Linked DNA regions of Homo sapiens: regions 1 and 3 are each linked to region 2. Evidence: promoter capture Hi-C in 16 types of primary human blood cells and fetal thymus (Javierre and others, 2016). All regions are on one chromosome and are shown on one strand. Each heading gives the region's core, a stretch centred on a gene start or on the middle of the fragment in contact. The rest is flanking DNA. Distances are from core to core; before and after follow the strand shown.

What was found. Contacts are between HindIII fragments. The CHiCAGO score rates a contact against its expected background, and 5 or more counts as called.
Region 1: a contact is called between a fragment that was not itself captured here and the fragment with the promoter of USP13 in region 2, in 4 of 17 cell types (M0 macrophages, M1 macrophages, naive CD8 T cells and 1 more). The highest score is 6.8, in M0 macrophages.
Region 3: a fragment that was not itself captured here is called in contact with the fragment with the promoter of USP13 in region 2 in 1 of 17 cell types (M1 macrophages); the score reaches 6.1 in M1 macrophages.

What each region holds. Positions count from the first base shown.
Region 1 is chr3:180,943,153-180,946,968 of GRCh38, forward strand. The region is part of intron 3 of FXR1 (FMR1 autosomal homolog 1); the gene reads left to right. Among named protein-coding and RNA genes, the nearest start is that of FXR1, 32 kb to the left of the region's middle. The HindIII fragment of the contact is 3,091 bases long and covers 498-3,588 here.
Region 2 is chr3:179,651,524-179,655,679 of GRCh38, forward strand. USP13 (ubiquitin specific peptidase 13) reads left to right here and starts at 1,517. Exons shown (of 21, transcript NM_003940.3): 1 at 1,517-1,870. The coding sequence starts at 1,703. RefSeq lists silencers at 1,249-1,328, 1,339-1,678 and an enhancer at 1,347-1,990. The HindIII fragment of the contact is 8,280 bases long and covers 1,056-4,156 here.
Region 3 is chr3:180,960,935-180,964,678 of GRCh38, forward strand. It overlaps FXR1 (FMR1 autosomal homolog 1), which reads left to right. Exons shown (of 17, transcript NM_005087.4): 11 at 534-620; 12 at 1,949-2,006; 13 at 2,094-2,156. Among named protein-coding and RNA genes, the nearest start is that of DNAJC19, 27 kb to the right of the region's middle. The HindIII fragment of the contact is 4,850 bases long and covers 1-3,744 here.

The sequences.
Region 1 (3,816 bases), core at 793-3,292, 1.3 Mb after region 2:
GACGGGGTTTCACCATATTGGTCAGGCTGGTCTCAAACTCCTGACCTCAGGTGATCCACCCGCCTTGGCATCCCGAAGTGCTGAGATTACAGGTGTGAGCCACTGTGCCCGGCTTTTTTTTTTTTTTTTTTTTTTTTTTTAAGAAGGAGTCTTGCTCTGTCATCCAGGCTGGAGGGCAGTGGTGCGATCTTGGCTCACCTCCCAGGTTCAGGCGATTCTCCTGCCTCAACCTCCCAAGTAGCTGGGATTACGGGCGCCCGCCCACCACCATGCCCAGCTAATTTTTGTACTTTTAGTAGAGACGGGGTTTTGCCATGTTGGCCAGGTTGGTCTCAAACTCCTGACCTCAGGTGATCCACCCGCCTCAGCCTCCCAGAGTGCTGGGATTACAGGTGTGGGCTGTGCAGCCAAATTTGTAGTGTTTTTGATTCAGGCTTAGGAATTTAGGTTTAGTCACTTTATGAGAGTAACTTGGTCTTTCAGGGGTGAAGTTATGAAGCTTACAGAAGTGGATATTAAGTTTAAAATGGAGTTCAGCATTTCATCGTTCAGTGAGAAAAGCCTCCAGGCAGTTGAGATGGTTTATTTAGAAAGCCAGATTCATGAATGATTATGCTTTGGTGAAAATAGAATAAGGGGGTTAGGTAGTTTTAAGACATAACATTTTCAGCAAATGAGGCTTGATTTACCCACATTAACAAGAGATATTCGAACTGCCTCTCTGAGATAGTTACTCGAATGGGCACCTTCTTTTGGTTGTTAGGATATTCTTTTTTTTTTTGAGATGCAGTTTCGCTCTTGTTGCCTAGGCTGGAGGGCAATGGCGCGATCTCAGCTCACCGCAGCCTCCGCCTCCCAGGTTCAAGCAATTCTCCTACCTCAGCCTCCCGAGTAGCTGGGATTACAGGCATGCACCACCACGCCTGGCTAATTTTGTATTTTTAGTAGAGACAGGGTTTCTCCATGTTGAGGCTGGTCTCGAACTCCTGACCTCAGGTGATCCACCCACCTCGGCCTCCCAAAGTGCTGGGATTACAGGCGTGAGCCACCGCGCCCGGCCTAGAATATTCTTTTTGTAACCCTCAGTATACTTGGGAAAACAGTCATCACTGATCGTTTACCAAATAATTTTGTAGCAGAAAGAATGAAAGGGTAGTAAGGTCGTTATTGGACCTTTTTTTTTTTTGAGACAGGGTCTCGCTCTGTCACCCAGTTTAGAGTATAGTGGCATGATCATGGCTCACTGCAGCCTTGACCTCCCAGTCTCAAGTGATCCTCCTTCCTCAGCCTCCCAAGTAGCTGGGACTAGAGGCATGCACCAACCACACCTGGCTAATTAAAAAAAAATTTTTTTTATAGAGACGAAATCTTCCTGTGTTGTCCAGGTTGGTCTCAAACTCCTGGGCTCAAGCAGTCCTCCTGCCTCAGCCTCCAAAAGTGCTGGGATTACAGGCATGAGCCACTGTGCCCCCCATTATTAGACTTTTTTAAAGGCCATTATTGACTCCATGCTGGAGTATAGTGAAGCAAACACAACTCACTGCAGCCTTGACTTCCTGGGCTCAAGAGATCCTTCCACCCTACCCCAGGCCCCCAAGTAGCTGAGATTACAGGCACATGCCACCATGCCTGGCTAACTTTTGTATTTTGCATAGTGATGGTGTTTCACCATGTTGTCCAGGCTGGTCTCGAACTCTGGAGCCAAAGTGATCTGCCCACCTCAGCCTCCCAGAGTACTCGGATTACGGGCGTGAGCCCCACCACGCATGGCCTTATTAGACATTTTAGTGAGGGTTTAAACATAGCAAATCTAACTTTTTCATATTTTCCAGGTTTTGATGATATATGTATCTACAATGAATGCAGTTCTCTAAATGTAACTAACTGCTCACTGTTATACATGAACCTAGAACATACCAATCTTATAAATATTGATAGCAGATTTAAAATATATCTCTAATAAATTCTAGCTTATTCTGGTTATTCTTACAGTTGGATCATCAGAATGCAGTCCTTGAATACTTTGGAACTTTTAATGACATCTCATTCTATTGAAGAAGGGATAGCCATCTCTGTGCTGTAATTTTAGCACATTTAGTCAGTTGGATTGACTAATCTATTGAATATTTTTGCATTTCATTATCTTTCTTTTTCGAGTTACCTTTGTATACACATCTGCTTTTGACATTTCCACTTACGAAGTACATTTTGGCACACAAACATTTCTTAAAATTTTATCTTCAATTTTTATTTTACCTTTTTTTTCCCCCTGGACAGGGTCTCGTTCTGTCACCCAGGGTTGAGTGTAGTGGTACAATCTTGGCTCACTGCAGTCTCAACTTCCCAGGCTCCAGCAATCCTTCCACCCTAGCCTTCCATGTAGGTGGCACCACAGGTGCACGCTACGACACCTGGCTAATTTCTTTTGTATTTTTGATAGAGATGGGGTTTCATCATGTTGTCCAGGGTGGTCTTGAACTCCTGAGCTCTCAAGCAGTCGACCTGCTTTGGCTCCCCAAAGTTTTGGGATTATAGGTGTAAGCCACCGTGCCTGACCACAAACATCTTAAAAGATGGAAGAATACTGTCATATACCCTTTTAGCAAACCAGGATGATCTGGGTTCTTGTTGGAGGATTTTGCATGATGGAGTCTCAGTTGAGTCATTAACTGGATGAGAATACACATCATCTTTCCCTCTTCTCCTTAGAAATACATTGTTTGAGAACAATGTTTGAGAAATACATCGTTTGAGAAATACATCGTTTGAGAAATACATTGAGAACATTCATCTAAGATGTCACCATCTCAGACTTCATAGTCTGAGGTTTTGCTTTGTAAGATAATTTCACATTTATCAGTACTCTTTGCATCTGTTGTCTGATATCTCTAATAATTAGAAAGGCCTTCCTCTGTAAATTTTTCTTCTCTTCGCAATTATGAGTGAAAAAAATTCATAATTATCAACTGGTCAACGGTAGCTAAAAGCAGACTACAAGGATGGTGTCTTTGGTCTTTTTGAACTGTTTTGAAAGAGATGTGATACCTCAGGCTATGCAGTAAGGAAACTGTATGAACATTAACAGTTTATTTCACTGTTGTATCCTCTAGGTGATGCCATCATTCCTCTGTTCCATTTTAGTCTTTATTTAAAGCATAGCTGAGAATAACTGATGAATGTTGATGAAATTGTAAAGTGTTTCAAGATATAGGAAAAATAAGATCACTAGATTCTACCTTACATTTATAAAAGGGCCCAGTGGATACATATAATAATTACAGAATAAGGGTGAGTTCTGTTCTAGTCTTAGAGAAGTAAACTTTCTTGTTTTTTGGAATATGTCGTAAGGAAGAATATAAGTCATGAGATATTGATCCCTTTGAATAGTTAGATCTGTTTATAAAAGAAATGGAAAAGCTAAAATTGAGTTTAACGGACCCTGATTGGTATATTGGACTTCCTGCTTTTTCTCATAGCTTTTTTCTAATCATGGTATACGATAAAGTTCATTAGTAGGTTTTGGTTTATTCATTTCCAGTTCCAGTATTCCTACCACTTCCAAGATTACTCTCAAATCATCCTGATAGAAGCTTCAGGCTTTCTAAAAGTCTTTGTTTTTAGTTGTTTGTGTTTATCTCCCAGATGGCTGTTAACAGCCACTGATAGGTTTCCCTGATGATCTCTGCAAGGACAGTCAATCTTGGTTTTTATTGGTTTTTAGTTTCTTCTCAGCCCCCCTTTTCTACCTTTCTCTATACTGAAAATATAATACGTTAAAGAAGCTCTGCTGTGTCATAAGAAATAACTCTAATCCCA
Region 2 (4,156 bases), core at 267-2,766:
TATTATTACATTTCCTTCCAAAGAGGTTTATCGTTTTTATCCCCACCAACAATGTAATGAGGGTCTACTTCCCAAACCCATGCTAACTCAATATATCTTTACCAGCCCAAAGGATGAAAAACAGTGTCTCACTGATTTAATTTGTATTTAATCTAAGATTAAATTTTAAGTTTTGTAAAACCAAGTTTATCTCTGTAATTGGAGAAAACATCATCCATTAACGTGAAAGGTAATAAGCTGATGAGACTAAATTCAAAGCAAAAGCTCGCTGAGAGGATCTGCCCAATGAGGAAGATGACAGTAGTGTCTGATTTTTTGCTCAGTGCCACCTCCTCCTTTTCCAACAGATAGCATTTGGGAGTGCTGAGTTATAAGAAAGTGTGGTGCGCTCGAGGCTTGCTTGAGGGTATGGAAATCTTGAGATAGGTCTGGAGAACCAGGGAGAGTTAAAAGAGAAAAAAAGTAAGAAAAAAAAAAGAACTTAAGGACTATCTGATCTGAGAGAGGCTTACAAAAATTAGCGTTTTGGTTCACTATTTCTCGCTATTTCTGCATTTCATTAACTGGCAGGGATCACTGGATACTCTGTCATGAATACATATGTTGGGTGTAGTTAGAGAACCTCAATGTCATTGAACCCGTCTTGTGGGTTTTTTGGAGAGAATGAGAGTATGCTGGGAGACATGCTCTGCTTGCAAATGATCAACCCCCGAGGCCAACCCCATTCATCATTTATTTTGAGGAACTGATGATCAAGACAGGAATATGTATGCCTGCCTACAAAATCCTCAAATCAGGCCACTGAATGTTCGACATGAGAACTTTGAATCACATAGAAGATACTCCAAAGGCAGAGAAAAATAGAAAGCCTTCCGACGCCCTGAAAAAATCTTGACCATCCCTGACTTCCCCCAATATGTAAGAAAACCTGTATTATTATTACACACACACTCCCACACACACCCCGCCCTCCCCCACACACACACCCTCTATCCTCACTCGATCTTATTCTATTCGCTCTATTTTTGAGCCTTGGATGTTAAAGTAAGGAACGAAGCTTAGTGGGGAAGCACTGAAGTGCATGGCGCAAATTTAGATTTAAGCCTCACGTTAGATTTCAGATTTGCACATCGAGTCCCGCCCCTATCCAATCCGGGGACGTCACCGCCCTAGTCTTCGGCTGTTTTAAAAGCAAGCGGTTTTTAAAACCCCCAATCCTGCTCTTTGTGTTGGCCTCCTCGGAGTTGCCCCTCTGCAAGCCAACAATTCGGGATAGAAAACACCTCCGTGGTGTTTTCCCGGGGCCCTCCCGCGCCGCGTTCGGCCGCCAGCCCGCTCGAGCTCCCGCGCCAACGCCTCAGGGGTTCGCCCTCCGCCCCCCGCCGCCGCGCCCGGCCCACGCGCAGGGCCCCTCTCCAGCGCCCCCTCCCCGGCACGCTGCGGCTGGCGCTCCCCAGCCCCGCCTGACGCTGCAGCTGGGCCGGAGACTCGCCATTGGATTAAAAATAGCGTCGCCAGTCCGCCCCAAGCCCGCGGTGCCCGCTCCCGCCCCGCAGCCCGCTCTCCCCGCCCGCCCCGGCTCGGCCGGCTGCCGTTGCCCGCGCAGCCCGCCCGTCAGCCCGCTCGCTGGCGCCGCCGCCGCCGGCAGACCCCGCGCTCCGGCTCCGGCTCGGCTCGCTCGGCTCCGGTGCGCGCCGAGGCCATGCAGCGCCGGGGCGCCCTGTTCGGCATGCCGGGCGGCAGCGGAGGCAGGAAGATGGCTGCAGGAGACATCGGCGAGCTGCTAGTGCCCCACATGCCCACGATCCGCGTGCCCAGGTCCGGCGACAGGGTCTACAAGAACGAGTGCGCCTTCTCCTACGACTCTCCCGTAAGTGAGGCGCCTCGGGGGAGGGTCGCGGGGCCGGCGGCCTGCGGCACGTGAAGCCGGGGGAGAAGATGCGCAGTGGCGGCCGGGACCTCTTCTCTTCCTCCGGGCGGCAGAGTTGGCTCAGGAACACTGCAGTTCGGCAGACACTTAGTGAGCGCCCCAGGGCTGCTGCAGCCGAGGACTGGCTCGTGCTGGTGGTTTTGCTCCGCCAGCCTCCCCAGGCTGGAAGGGCCCGATTCCCAGCAGCTTGCACACAGCCCCGCCGCCGTTTAAAGATAGATGAAATACAAGAGTTCCCTGTTCCGAACTGCACGTTGCAGATCGTTTGCGTCCTCCGCGGGGCAGAGCGCAGGGCGGGTAGGTGGACGGGATGATCCCCCCACACCCCGGGACACACACAGCCCTTCTTTTTCTGGGACCACTTGCTTTGCTCAGGGATCCCCACTTCTGGACAATTCTGATTTGCTCTCTGAGCTTTTCTTCCACCAGTTCCCATTTCACCCCACTCCTTTTCTTGTCTTTAGAATGTCAGGGCCAGGCGCGGTGGCTCACGTCTGAAATCCTAGCACTTTTTAAGAGGCGGAGGCGGGCGGATCGTTTGAGGTCAGGAGTTCGAGACCAGCCTGGCTAATATGGCGAAACCCCATCTCTACTAAAAAAGAACCCCAAAATTAGCCGGGCGCGGTGGCGGGAGCCTGTAGTCCCAGCTACTCGGGAGGCTGAGGCTTGAGAATCGCTTGAACCGGGAAGGAGGAGGCTGTAGTGGGCCGAGATCGCGCCACTGCCCTCCAGCCTGGGCGACAGAGCGAGACTCCGTCTCAAAAAAAAAAAAAAAAAAATGTCAGACGAAACCTTCCGGTGCCTCCACTCGGGCAGCAGAAATAGGGGATCTACTGGATTGCGATGGTTTTCTTAAGCCTTCCCCACCTTGCCCTTCTAAATGAGTCACTTGGACTGACATGCGCAAGTATAAATTATTAAAAGTTCAATCCCGAGTCGTGACCTCGGAGAATGAGGAGGAAGCTGAGAGGGATCGCCGCCTTCCACCCGGGGCGGTTGGTGGTGGTTTTCACCTGGTTCTATGTGAATGTGTGAGAAGCAGCAGGAGGGTGAATGTCCCTTTCAAAAGTCAAAATGGGCTTCAAAGTGACTCAGCTGTCTGGCGTTTATCATGTCTTTTTGAGGACCAGGTTATTTTTATCCACCCACTTTAGATCTCATATGTCACCCGGCAGATCTCAATGCATTGGGAGGCGCATGGATTGGATGGACCGAGGCAGGTCTCGCAATGGTCTAATGTATTTTATTCATAGCATGTGGACTATTGTCAGAGGGGAAAAGAAAAGTCCAAATGAGCGGCAACATTTCCAAAGTTTCCTTTATTATCTGTGGGTTGATTTTGGCTGGCTTCAAAGCACTTTTGCTCGACACACACTGGAGTATCAGAGTTAGTATCCTCTCTGTGACATTTAGTTTTTTTATTTATGGTAACTCCATATCATTTGAGGGATGAAACCTAACTTAATTTTTGATTGTTTACTTTTTTTTTCTTTCGAAAAGATCCACAGAGTGGAGTGTGACAATCGGCAGTCCTTTTTTAGGATGTTATCCATAAATTATTTGAAAATGCCATTTTCAGATTGTATGGCCAGTGTTGGGCAGTTCCCACTAATAGCTTCTAAAGGTGGAGAGGGATGATGGTCCTAACTTAAGCAATTGACAGATTGTTACCTCCAGGAAGAAGAAAGTGGCCTAAGTTTTTTAGGATAGCACAACATGGAAAGTGGGTCAAATGACTTTCCCCATGTTTTGATTTGGGCTCTTCTTCAAGTTCTGCTTACAAACTTTGCTCTTGGAAGTTTTTGCTGCATAATGCAGTGGATAACAGGTGTGGGAAAAAAGGCTGATTGTTTTAATTCATTTCCACAAATAGTTATTGGGAGCTTACTGTGTGTGTTTCTAGAATGTTACTATTCTAGAAACATCTCGTCCAGTGTAGACTGATGATTGCAATCATATCACAGCAGTTCCTTAGGGGAGACTGGGATTATTTACAAGGCTGATGAATCAGTATATTTCATTATCTATGTTTCAGGGGAGGAAGGGAAGGTTTGATAATATTTATCTTAAAGCACAGTGCGTGATAATGGGAAGGTTTTTTTTGTTTTGTTTTGTTTTTTTTTTGAGTTTTGCTCTTGTTGCCCAGGCTGGAGTGCAATGGCACAATCTCAGCTCACTGCAACCTCTGCCTCCTGGATTCAAGTGATTCTCCTGCCTCAGCCTGCC
Region 3 (3,744 bases), core at 290-2,789, 1.3 Mb after region 2:
AATCTGAGTATTTCAACTTACATGGATTTTAGCATTTTTTTCTCCTTAAATCTTGAAGTTTAGTACATGTAAATTGCTGCGTGTTTCAGAAGAGTTTTCCTAATTATATATTGGGGCTGGGTACAGTGGCTCACGCCTGTAACCTCTTTACGAAGTCAATAATCCCAGCGCTTTGGGAAGCCAAGGCAGGAGGATTGCTTGAGGCAAGGAGTTGGGCAACAGAGCAAGACCCTGTCTCTACAAAAAATAAAAAGTAATAGCTGGTTGTGGTGACACGCATCTATAGTCCCAGCTACTCTGGAGGCTGAGACAGGAGAATCACTTGAGCCCAGGAGTTTGATGCTGCAGTGAGCTGTGATTGTAACACTGCACTGTAGCCTGGGCAACAGAGCAAGACGTCATCTCAAAAAAAAAAAAAAAAAAAAAAAAAAAAGGTGTGTGTGTGTGTGCCTGCCTGTCAGTTTCATGTCACTTTTAGGCTAGAACTTTGTTAAAATATTAAACACTGAATACTTTTTTTTTTTTTTAAACAGGGTATGGTTCCATTTGTATTTGTTGGCACTAAAGAAAGCATTGGAAATGTGCAGGTTCTTCTAGAGTATCATATTGCCTATCTAAAGGTTTGTATACGGTTCATACTATATTCTGATATTGTTGCTGCATTTACTACATAAATGTTGTACATTTGCTACAAATTTAAAATGTCCTCACATTAAACATTTTATATTTGAAGTAAACTTCAAATCTTTAAATATTTTTTGTTAATTCAGCTTCAGATTTGCCATTGTTCTACATGAGAATTTAAAAAGTCCTTTGTCATCATAAAATGATTGGCCTTGTGTGCATAATTTCTCTTCTTTCTGAGCTTTTATATTTCTTTCTTTCTTAAGAAATGATTCCTTTGTCTTCATGCAATTTGACTCTCAGATCACTTATGTATCTGCATGTTCATACTGGAGCCATTTTGTTTTTACTTTTGTACTTTACATACAAATAGGGTACAGAACCAGGAGTGACATTGGGCTTCCTTGGTAACTTTGGCATTATGCAAATCATCTGCATCATCTCCACTGACATTACTCGATAATTTGTAACCATTGTTAACAAAATAGTCTATTTGAGTTGATACATAAAGAGCAAGGGTTTTTAGAAAAATATGACCCATAAATTATTAAACATTTTAATTTTATTTTCTACTCTTTCCCTTTTATTCCTGCTGTGTTTCTTTTTAAAGTATAATAATATCCTCACCTGTTCTCTGCCTCTAGTATGTTTTCCTCCCAGTCTGTCGTATCATTGTTGCTGTTACTATTTTGAGATCACTCTGATAATGTCATTTCTTTTCTTTTGAAATTCATCTTTATATGAAAAGTCGCAATTAAAGCTGGCATTTTGAAGCCAGTGCTTTATCTTTCAGTACTCATCTTTTAACCAAGAGCTTTCTCTAGACATCTAACCTTTGCATCCTGTAATGACCTCAATTTCTGAATGACAAAGTCTAGCACTCCTTCTAGGTCACAACTCGTGTCACTGCTTTGATAGGAAAGTAGCTTGTTAATAGTACCTTTCATAGATGCTACCTGTATCTCATTCAGCAATTCTAACTCCTTGAGGGCAAAATCTGGTAATATTGTATAATTGTTAGCTATTTAATAAATAACTTATTTTAAAGCTGTCTGTTAAACATCCCCTTGATTGGGGAGAGTCCATGTCTTCTTTTATATTGTATGCCTATAGTAGCATGTTTGGCACACTCTAGACCATTCAGTAAATGTTGAACAGAAACAGCAAATGACCTCATCAATTCTGTTGACTAGGAACACAATGCTCTTTACCATCTAATTGCCTAAGGTCACAGCTTTGATAGGGAGTACAGCTTTAGCTTTAGGCTTTAGGAAAACAAAAAGTTATATATAAGAAGACTTACTCTTTTTTGTTTTGATTGTAGGAAGTAGAACAGCTAAGAATGGAACGCCTACAGATTGATGAACAGCTGCGACAGATTGGTATGGGTTTCAGACCTTCTTCCACCAGAGGGCCTGAAAAAGAGAAAGGATATGCCACTGATGAAAGTACCGTCTCTTCTGTACAAGGTTCTAGGTCTTATAGCGGAAGAGGCAGAGGTCGTCGGGGACCTAATTACACCTCCGGTTATGGTAAAAAAAAATTTTTTTTTTTTTTTTTTGGTAATAGTAATAATAGTAGTTATAGTTTAGGTGCTCTAACACATTTTCTTATAATTAGTTCATTACTCTGTCTTGGCTTTGAGGGTAGAAGGTAGTTCTGAAGGTTTAGTACACGTCTTAATAGTAGTGATAGTATACATTAAAATGACAGTAAAATATATAAAATTTCCAAGCAGTTATGTAATGAAGCAAAGCATGTTTTTAAGTTGGTAGTTCATTGTCATGTTTATTATATTTACAAAGAATACATATGTAACTTGTTTTTCAAATACTTTACTAGTACAGTTTTATACATTTCCCAGTAAATACCTAGTAATGGTGGTGGTGATACTTCTAGGAATCATCTTTTGTCTACCCTCTTTAAGTAAAAAATGAAAAGTGTGCGAATCACTGCCAAGATTGCATATAGCAAGTCTTTTTACTAGCTTTTAAAAAATATTTTACTTACTCATTTGGCGTATTTGAATATATTAACATCTCACATCTGGAATTATTTTATTTAACAACATTTCACTAAAATGAAGACTCTGAAAGCCAGAATCTAATTTAACACTTTATAAATGAACATTTTCTAAAATGTATTTCACTGTGAGGATTGGGTCTAACCCAGATAGGAAGGGGGACAGTGGAGTGGTGATAGTCAACAATTCTCTAATCCTAAATTCTCCCTTATTCTTCTTCAGCTTTGGAGTTGTTCCATTTTTCTACATTTGGACTTGGATCTTAGCAGTGACCTGATTTGTTTTTTTCCTTCGCCCCTTCTCTTTATTTTCTCTTTTCCTTTTCTTTTCTTCACTCCTATACTTACTCCCTTTTGAGGAAATATAAAACCTTTTCCAAAATGTAAGGCATTTAAGGAAAATAGAAATAAATGCAAATTTCATGCTTTAATTGAAGGATCATCTAATGCTGACAAAGTTATATTAAACCTGAACTATCTTCAATTTGTTGTAGAGTTGTAAGTTTGTGTCCCTGCCCTTTAATATCATATCTTTATGTTCTCATTTTCTTATATATGTTTTTATTTAATGCAGTATTGAAACCTAAACAGCAAAATTCTAATAAAGAAGTGTTCAGCATATAAAGGGATGAAAATTGCAGACTATTATTATATTTCTGAAAATGTTTAATGCAAAAGACAGTTAACCAGTAATCACATAGAAATCAAATATATTCTCATTGATTTTTGAACCATACATTATTAGCATAGATAATCAGACTTGGCTTATTGGATGATGCGTATGATGAATTCATTGAATAATTTTATTAGCTTTTGTGGGAAGTCGGCTTATTGATGAGAGCTTACTCTGGCAAAATGCTTTTGTTGAGAGTAGATAATTATGTGAGAGGTAGAGAAACATCTGGATTCAAGAAAGCTGTGCAAATTGTTCAGTAGATGGCACTCTTAGCTCTGAATCTTAGTGGAATTGATAACATTTTATTTCTTGAAATAGTTACTGAACCTGAGTGGGCTTGGAAAAGCAAGAAAAACCATTTGAATTTGGTTGTAGACGTTCATGTATACATTATATCAGAGGGACTTGTAGTTGATTTATAT